2 separate regions of the Homo sapiens genome follow, and region 1 is linked to region 2. Evidence: promoter capture Hi-C in human tissues and cell types (Jung and others, 2019). All regions are on one chromosome and are shown on one strand. Each heading gives the region's core, a stretch centred on a gene start or on the middle of the fragment in contact. The rest is flanking DNA. Distances are from core to core; before and after follow the strand shown.

Region 1 (4,045 bases), core at 142-2,641, 180 kb before region 2:
TAAAAGTGGATATTCAAGCTCTAACAGCCTGGACTCCTTGGGAAAAACAAGAGGCACCAGAGACCCCTTTCGTGGCCCTGTTCTTCCAAGGGCTCCACCCTGAAGCCGGTAATCCAATTAAGAAACTTAAAAACTGGCAAATGAAAAATCTTACAACCACTGTTATCATCATCATCTGTCTTTCTGTGTAGCTATATAGGTGTCGTGTGTAATATTTATATAAAAGAGCTCTGATTAATCAGCTTAAACAAAAATAAACATTTAAATCAAATATTTTGAAAGCAAAATAACTAATGCCTTTTAGTTCATGTAACTTTAGTAATCTTTAGGAAATAAACACATCTTTAAAATTGATAAAAATGTTAATCTTAATTATGCAGGTCAGATATTAAGTTTGTTAAATGATTTGAGGTCATAAACTGTTTCTTTGACTTTTAAAAATTGTTCAATTTACCCTACCTTAAAGCCATTAGATTCTAGATAAGGCCTGGGGACATGTGGAGTTAGCCACGCCCCTAAGCTGTGCTGGAGAGTCAGCTCTTATCTGCACTTCTGCCTGGTGTGTCCTAGGCTAGGCTCCACACCTAGTACATAATTAAAATTGCTTACTAACCAGGGTTTTCACCAAAAGTAAAAGTCGCTAAAAGTTAAAATTGGAACATGTAACTGAGACTATTGAAGAGACAGTTTTACATGTAAGGTGTGTAGTAAGGAAAATAGAATGTACTTTTGGTAAAAGATTATAAGAAGGCATGGAAATGTGGGGTTTTTTGGCTAAAGAGTTAAATAATTATTCTAAGTTGGCCGGGCACAGTGGCTCAAACCTGTAATCCCAGCACTTAGGGAGGTCGAGGCAGATGGATCACCTGAGGTTAGGAGTTTGAGACCAGTCTGGCCAACATGGTGAAACCCCATCTCTATCAAAAAATACAAAAGTTAGCCGGGCATGGTGGCGCACACCTGTAGTCACAGCTACTCGAGGCTGAGGCAGGAGAAGCGCTTGAACCTGGGAGGGGGAGGTTGCAGTGATCTGAGATTGCACCACTGCACTCTATCCAGCCTGGGTGACAGAGCGAGACTCCATCTCAAAAAAAAAAAAAATTCATACAGGAAGCATTATCAAATGTCAAATGGTGTTTTGCTTTCTTTGGATTATATTTACATAACTGTATTATTGGTATATGTTCCAAAGTTATGGGAAACTCCTATAATTCTAATATGATTTAGTGTATGTTATTAATAATTATAATTGTTATGCAAAATATTGTGTGCCACAGAAGTAACCAAATTTCCTTATCATTTCTGGCTTTAATAGTGGCTCTCCTAAAACTTTTTATCATCCACAGACAATTGTTGTCTTGTTTTAATCCTGTTTAGAAGATGATTTATAATCAGCTATAGAACTCTAGCAGGTGTTCTTAAATGCAGGTTTCTAATAACTTTGGAAATTGTAACATTAGAATAGAGGAAACAACTTTCAGAACTCATGAAGAGCTAGAATGTTCATGAATATCAAATGAAACATGAGTTAATTGAATCAACTGAACCAATAGAAAACTGAAGTAATCTTTGATTAAAATGTTGCTGATCCTTTGTTTTGTTTTTCAGAGTCAAGGAAACTTTTCATTTGAGCTATTTACAGTTCATAGCAATTGAGTAAAGTATACTGCTGTGAACGAAATTTGGAACATATTTGTTTCTCTATATCAGATTTCTCCAGAATTTGGAAACTAGTTGTGAGTATTCTTAACTTATGGCAATGTAATTATTTGCATAAGTGCAATAAGAATCTGTTTTCTTTTGTAACAGAATACAATTGGAGAAAGTGGTTATTTTACCAAGGCTTTGACTGAAATGGTGTGCTTTTCTTTAAGGAATCAAACTTGACTTGTAGAGCCAATAAAAGCCCTTTGGGGAACTGGCCTCATACCTTGCCTACACAGTGCCTGTACAGGGTTTCTGACCTATGGTAAGTAAAGAATGTCACTTTCTCACCTGTCCAGGAGCCCCAAGTTATCTTGGGACCTCAAAAGGAGAGAAATTTACCCAAGTTATAGGTATTTAAGGGTACAAACCCATGTCAGGGCTTGGCTTTTAAAAAAGTCTTATCTGAGATTCCTTATGAAACAGAGTTCCATCAAAGCCAATTAAAAAGCCTATGTGAAAAATTATTATTCTTGCTGCACTTTATACAAACAATCAGGCCAAGTATAATAAAGCAAGTCAGTCTTACCATAATTTGTCTTTAGTAAAAATGGGAAACTGGAGAGAGAAATACTATGTTTCAAAAACTATGGTACACTTGTTATTAAATTCTGGTCTCATTAATTGTTTTTAAGTTTGTTTCTGCAATTTAGGCTAACCCTGCGTATTCTTGTAAACCAACCAGTAATCTCTAATTGTTGCTCAGAAGAAATAAGAGGGATGGGTAATTTAAAAATCTGGATCAGTATTCTGATTCTGGGCACATTACAATCAGCTAACAACCCGATATCAGCTTAGTTCCAGTGGTTGCCTGGTTCATGAAAAGTCTTCTAATTTAGTTTATTTGGAATAACTTTACTTATTTTGCTTTACTCTTTTTTTTTTCTTTCTTTCTTTTTGAGACAGAGTCTTGTTCTGTCGCCCAGGCTGGACTGCAGTGACACCATCTTGGCTCACTGCAGCCTCCGCCTCCTGGGTTCAAGTGATTCTCCTGCCTCAGCCTCCCAAGTAGCTAGAATTACAGGCACACATCACAACGCCCAGCTGACTTTTATATTTTTAGTAGAGATAGGGTTTCACCATGTTGGCCAGGCTGGCCTCGAACTCCTGACCTCAGGTAATCCACCTGCCTCGGCCTCCCAAAGTGCTGGATTACAGGTGTGAGCCACTGTACCCAGCCTATTTTGCTTTACTCTTGTGGAATATATTGCTGTTATACTTTTTGTGTAGGAATACAGGACAAGCTTACTGAACGTTTTCTTACTAATTTTCCAGATACCACCTTTTGTTGAAACTTGAGTTATGAATGAACCTTACCATACTGATGCTTTCTGACTGAGCTCCTTTTTACCCTGAATGCAAGAGACCCTCATAGGCAGGCAGGAATATCATTGCCCTATTTAGCCTGAAGAAGTTATAGAAGATGGATCTTCGTCCCTCTGCAACCCTTAGGATTAAGGGTTCTCTTAGACGGGGGGAAATGTCAGAGGCGTATGAACCAGAGCAACTCCATCTTAAACAGGCTGGGTAAAATGAGGCTAAAACCTACTGGCCTGCATTCCCAGATGATTAAGGCATTCTAAGTCACGGGATGAGATAGGAGGTCAGCACAAAATACAGGTCATAAAGACCTTGATGATAAAACAGTTGCAGTAAAGGAGCCGGCCAAAACCCACCAAAACCAAAATGGCCACGAGAGTGACCTCTGGTCGTCGTCACTGCTGTGCTCCCACCAGCGCCATGACAGTTCACAAATGCCATGGCAAAGTCAGGAAGTTACCCTGTATGGTTTAAAAAGGGGAGGCATGAAAAATCCACCCCTTGTTTAGCATATCATCGACAAATAACCATAAAAATGGACAACCAGCAGCCCTCGGGGCTGCTCTGTCTATGGAGTAGCCGTTCTTTTATTCCTTTACTTTCTTAATAAACTTGCTTTTACTTCACACTGTGGACTTGACCCATTATTTCTTGTGCGAGATCCAAGAACCCTCTGTTGGGGTCTGGATTGGGACCCTGTCCTGTAACAATAGCGTCTCACTGTGTTGCTCAGATTGGTCTCAAACTCCTGGGCTCAAGCGATCCTATCGCTTAAGGGTACAAAGTGTCTCCCAAAGTGCTGGGATTACAGGAATGAGCCATCGCACTTGGCTATATTTTTGCAAGTTTTGTTGTGCCTGAATTGCTCCATTCCTTTTTTTTTTTTTTTTTTCTTTTTTGAGATGGAGTTTCACTGTTGTTGCCCAGGCTGGAGTGCAATGGCATGGTCTCGGCTCACCGCAACCTACGCCTCCTGGATTTAAGCGATTCTCCTTCCTCAGCCTCCCAAGTAGCTGGGATT
Region 2 (3,864 bases), core at 8-2,507:
CCGTGATGACAGACTCTATTTAGAAATTGGGCATGGTGGGAATATTTACAACACAGAATGGGGCAATGGCAAATGCCACAGAACAGGGCAATATCTCCCCCTCCAGAGCCAGTTGAGTTGTTAAACATTTGTCAGCACCACACTGGATCAAAGTTAACTACCACCAGGCAATTCAACTTTCTGTGTCTCCTGATATTTCACACTAAGAAGAGCACAACATCATTTTTGTCATATTCTGCCCAAAATGTATGACCTCAATCTAGTGAGAAAACATGAGTTGGGGGAGGGGACGGGAACACAGGATTAGATTGAGAGGCATCCTACAAAATAACTGGCAAAACATCAAGGTCGGCTGGGCGCGGTGGCTCACACCTGTAATTTCAGCACTTTTGGGAGGCCAAGGTGGGTGGATCACCTGAGATCAGGGGTTTGAGACCAGCCCGACCAACATTGTGAAACAAAATCTCTACTAAAAATACAAAAAAATTAGCCGGGCGTGGTGTGGCGCTTCTATAGTCCTAGCTACTCGGGAGGCTGAGGCAGGAGAATTGCTTGAACCAAGGAGACAGAGGTTGCAGTGAGCCAAGATTGCGCCATCACACTCCAGCCAGGGTGACAAGAGCGAAACTCCATCTCAAAAAAAAAAAAAAAGAAAAAAAAATCAAGGTCAAGACAGACAAAGATGATTAGGAAGGTGTTTCAGACTAAAGGAGACTAAAGAAACAGGACAACTAAATGCAATATATGATCCTAATTGGATGCTAGACCAGAAATTTTTTTTTTTTTTTTTTTTTGCTATTAAGGACATAATTGGGACAACTGGTGAATATGAATAAAATCTTTAGATTGAAAAACAGAATTATATCAATGTTAAGTTTCTGATTTTGAACACTGTACTATGGTTATATAATAAAAGAATGCCCCAAATGCATACAAAAGTATATGGAAGAAAAGGCATAAGTCTGCTACTGTCAGGTGGTTCGCCAAAAATATTTTTTAAAGAAAGAAACATGTTAATAAAGGAAAATGCGGGTACCAGACACACAGTTCTTTGTACTATTCTGGGGACTTTTCTATAAGTCTGAAATTATTTAAACATTAAGTTACAAGGGAAAAACCATGAACGCTACCTGATCCTCTGCCCTCATCTCTAGGTCCACATGGCTGCAGTCGGAGGGAGGCGGTGAGCAAGGTGTTCTCCAAGGTCTCAAGGGGCCCCAAGGCTACAAGGTCAGAACAGAAGCAAAGGCCACGTCCACCACCGACCCACCTCAAGAGCCACAGCCTCTCGGGTCTCCACAGCCCCACTCAGGTCTCACACACAGGCGCAGGGACTAGCCACAGGTGCAGCAACGTCACGTCTTTCCCCTGGGCGCGTGTGCAGCTCGAGGCTTTGCAGGAGGCGCACCTGCGATGGCCTTACCGCCAGGTGAGCCCGGCGGGCTCTCATCGCCTCAGCCGGAGATTCCAACTGCAGGGAGCGCACCTCCTCTGGCTAGGGCGTGTTTCCGAAGGATGGCAAGAATCCTGGCCTCTGATGGCTATCTTCTCCCCTTCCCCTCCAAGCCCAGTGTTGTGACCCTGTGCCCTCTTTCCCCTCAATTTTGGGCCCAGGAGTCAGGTACTAAGACTCAACAGTCACAGAGGGAAGTCAGGAGCTCCCTTGTGAAGGCAGACTTAAGCAAATGCATCTTCTTCCAAAGCCTTCATGTTTTTCTTAATGTTGGCTTCAAAAGCCTAGTTTGTGGCCCAGGCTGCTACTGGTGAGTTTCTAGCAGGGTGCTGGAAATCTTGGCCAATACCAGCCGACCACTCCCCCAGTCCCCTGGGGCGTGTTTCTGGGCTTTCCCATTATCAATTAGTTGGAAATTGCACATCGTGTCCTGGCCTTACAACAAACACCTGTTCTGATCTACAGCCTCTTGCTGAAGGAACAACAGGAGACAGACAGCAGGTGGCGGGGTGTGCCACAGGTATTGTGCTTCTTACGCTTAAGTTTTCTGATGAAGTCTCATTCATAGGATGAAGCCGCTGTATTTGAATTCTGGGGTGAACACAATAAGCTGCACAGGGAACAGACTCAGGCGCTGCTAAATCTGTTGTGATTATAGTTGCTTTTGCAAGTTTCTTCATTCATCCTATGTAGACAAGCCAGGCTAGACAAGGAATCCATTGTCTAGCATAGCAACTGGCACACAGTAGGTGCTTGGTAAATATCTGAATGACTTTATAATGCCCTGCACATTCTGCAGAGTTGAAGTGATCATTCTCCCAATACCTGTAAATCTGGAAGTATTTTTGCCTATGTTGGCACTGCCATACTTCTTTAAAATGATACTTTAAAAAGAAAATGTGTTCTTCAAATACAGTGCTTGTGGAAGAAGTCCTGAGGTTCCCAGTGATCTCAAATGCTGAGCAGTGGAAAGGAGACTGAATAACAGCATTATGATCTGTGTTTTTACTCTGTATTCATGAAATCTGATTATCATTTCCTCTATGTATTTTTTTCTTATCCCCTTCCCCTGCAAAATGAAAAAATTCGGTAGTGAAAAGTGTGAAGGAAAGACAATTGTTTCAGTTGAGCAGATAGGCTTATCAAACAAATGAAAACAAAAAAACACATAATCAAGAGTATGATGGGAGAGGAAAAACAAATTATTTTTAATGATTCACGGCAACCACATTTATATCCTATTGTTACTAGAGAAAAAAATGTCTTCAGATAACCAGTGGTCAGCAGATGAGGATGAAGGCCAATTATCCCGACTAATCAGGAAATCTAGAGACTCCCCCTTTGTCCCTATAGGTAAGTACAAGCCTTGACTGGATGCAGAAAACTGTAATAACACAATGATGCCTTACCCAGTGCCTTTGCGGATTGAAATGTTTCTTATAATTGAATTTTTTCAGATAATTGAAGCTAACCTCCTCTAAGCATGTGTTGAACTTTCAGAATAGTTCCTAATACATGGTAAGCCCCCAGTAAATGTTAGCTGTTATTTGAGGCATCAAATTTTATTCTATTTTATCCATTTCATTAGAAGTCTACCTAAAATTATTAGTTCCTAGCCAGTCAAATGGAATAGATTGAATGAATATTAACATTTCAGTCATAACTCAGGACCATCAACAGCAGCATCAGTTTATTATATTTAAAGCCTATTAGGGACTATTGAGATGCATATGTCTCTTTGTCTTGTAAGTAATCTAAACTTTAAGTTCTTACATCTTCTGTTTATAGATTTTTCTGTTTCTATCTTACTATTGGGCACATTAAAAACTTCTGCTTCTAGGCCGGGCACGGTGGCTCATGCCTGTAATCCCAGCGCTTTGGGAGGCCGAGGTGGGAGGATTGCTTGAGCTCAGGAGGTGCAGGTTGCGGTGAGCCAAGATCACACCACTGCACTTCAGCCTGGGTGACATAGTGAGACCCTGTCTCAAAAACAAACAAACAAATAAACAAAAAACCAAAAACTTCTGCATCTAATGTTTTTAATGCTCTGTAGCACCAGAAGCTAGATAACCAAGCTTGAAAGAACTGTGGGTCAATTCAGAGGAAAGCTCTGAGTAAAAGCCTGGATCTATCTGAACACTTGTGAGCATGAACTTTGGAGTGGTCATTTTGGCTGCTCAGTGGCCCTCTGTGCTGGCTTCTTGGTGTGCTCCAGGTGTTGAGTTTGATGGCAAAATAAATTCTGGACTAAAGAAGTGATACTATAATTAGGCCGGGCACAGTGGCTCACTCCTGTAATCCCAGCACTTTGAGAGGCCGAGGCAGGTGGATCACTTGAGGTCAGGAATTCAAGACCAGCCTGGCCAATAGGGTGAAACCCCATCTCTACTAAAAATACAAAAAGTTGGCTG

What was found. Contacts are between HindIII fragments. The study calls those that stand out against the background at their distance.
Region 1: a contact is called between a fragment that was not itself captured here and the fragment with the promoter of HIGD1C in region 2, in 1 of the 25 tissues and cell types used here (mesenchymal stem cells).

The regions. Positions count from the first base shown.
Region 1 is chr12:50,768,421-50,772,465 of GRCh38, forward strand. The region is part of intron 1 of ATF1 (activating transcription factor 1); the gene reads left to right. Among named protein-coding and RNA genes, the nearest start is that of ATF1, 6.3 kb to the left of the region's middle. RefSeq lists enhancers at 487-987, 988-1,488. The HindIII fragment of the contact is 6,244 bases long and covers 1-4,045 here.
Region 2 is chr12:50,951,287-50,955,150 of GRCh38, forward strand. HIGD1C (HIG1 hypoxia inducible domain family member 1C) reads left to right here and starts at 1,258. Exons shown (of 5, transcript NM_001109619.4): 1 at 1,258-1,429; 2 at 1,919-1,973; 3 at 2,705-2,806. The coding sequence starts at 2,713. It also overlaps a transcript of SLC11A2 not described here. RefSeq lists an enhancer at 1,340-1,840. The HindIII fragment of the contact is 13,572 bases long and covers 1-3,864 here.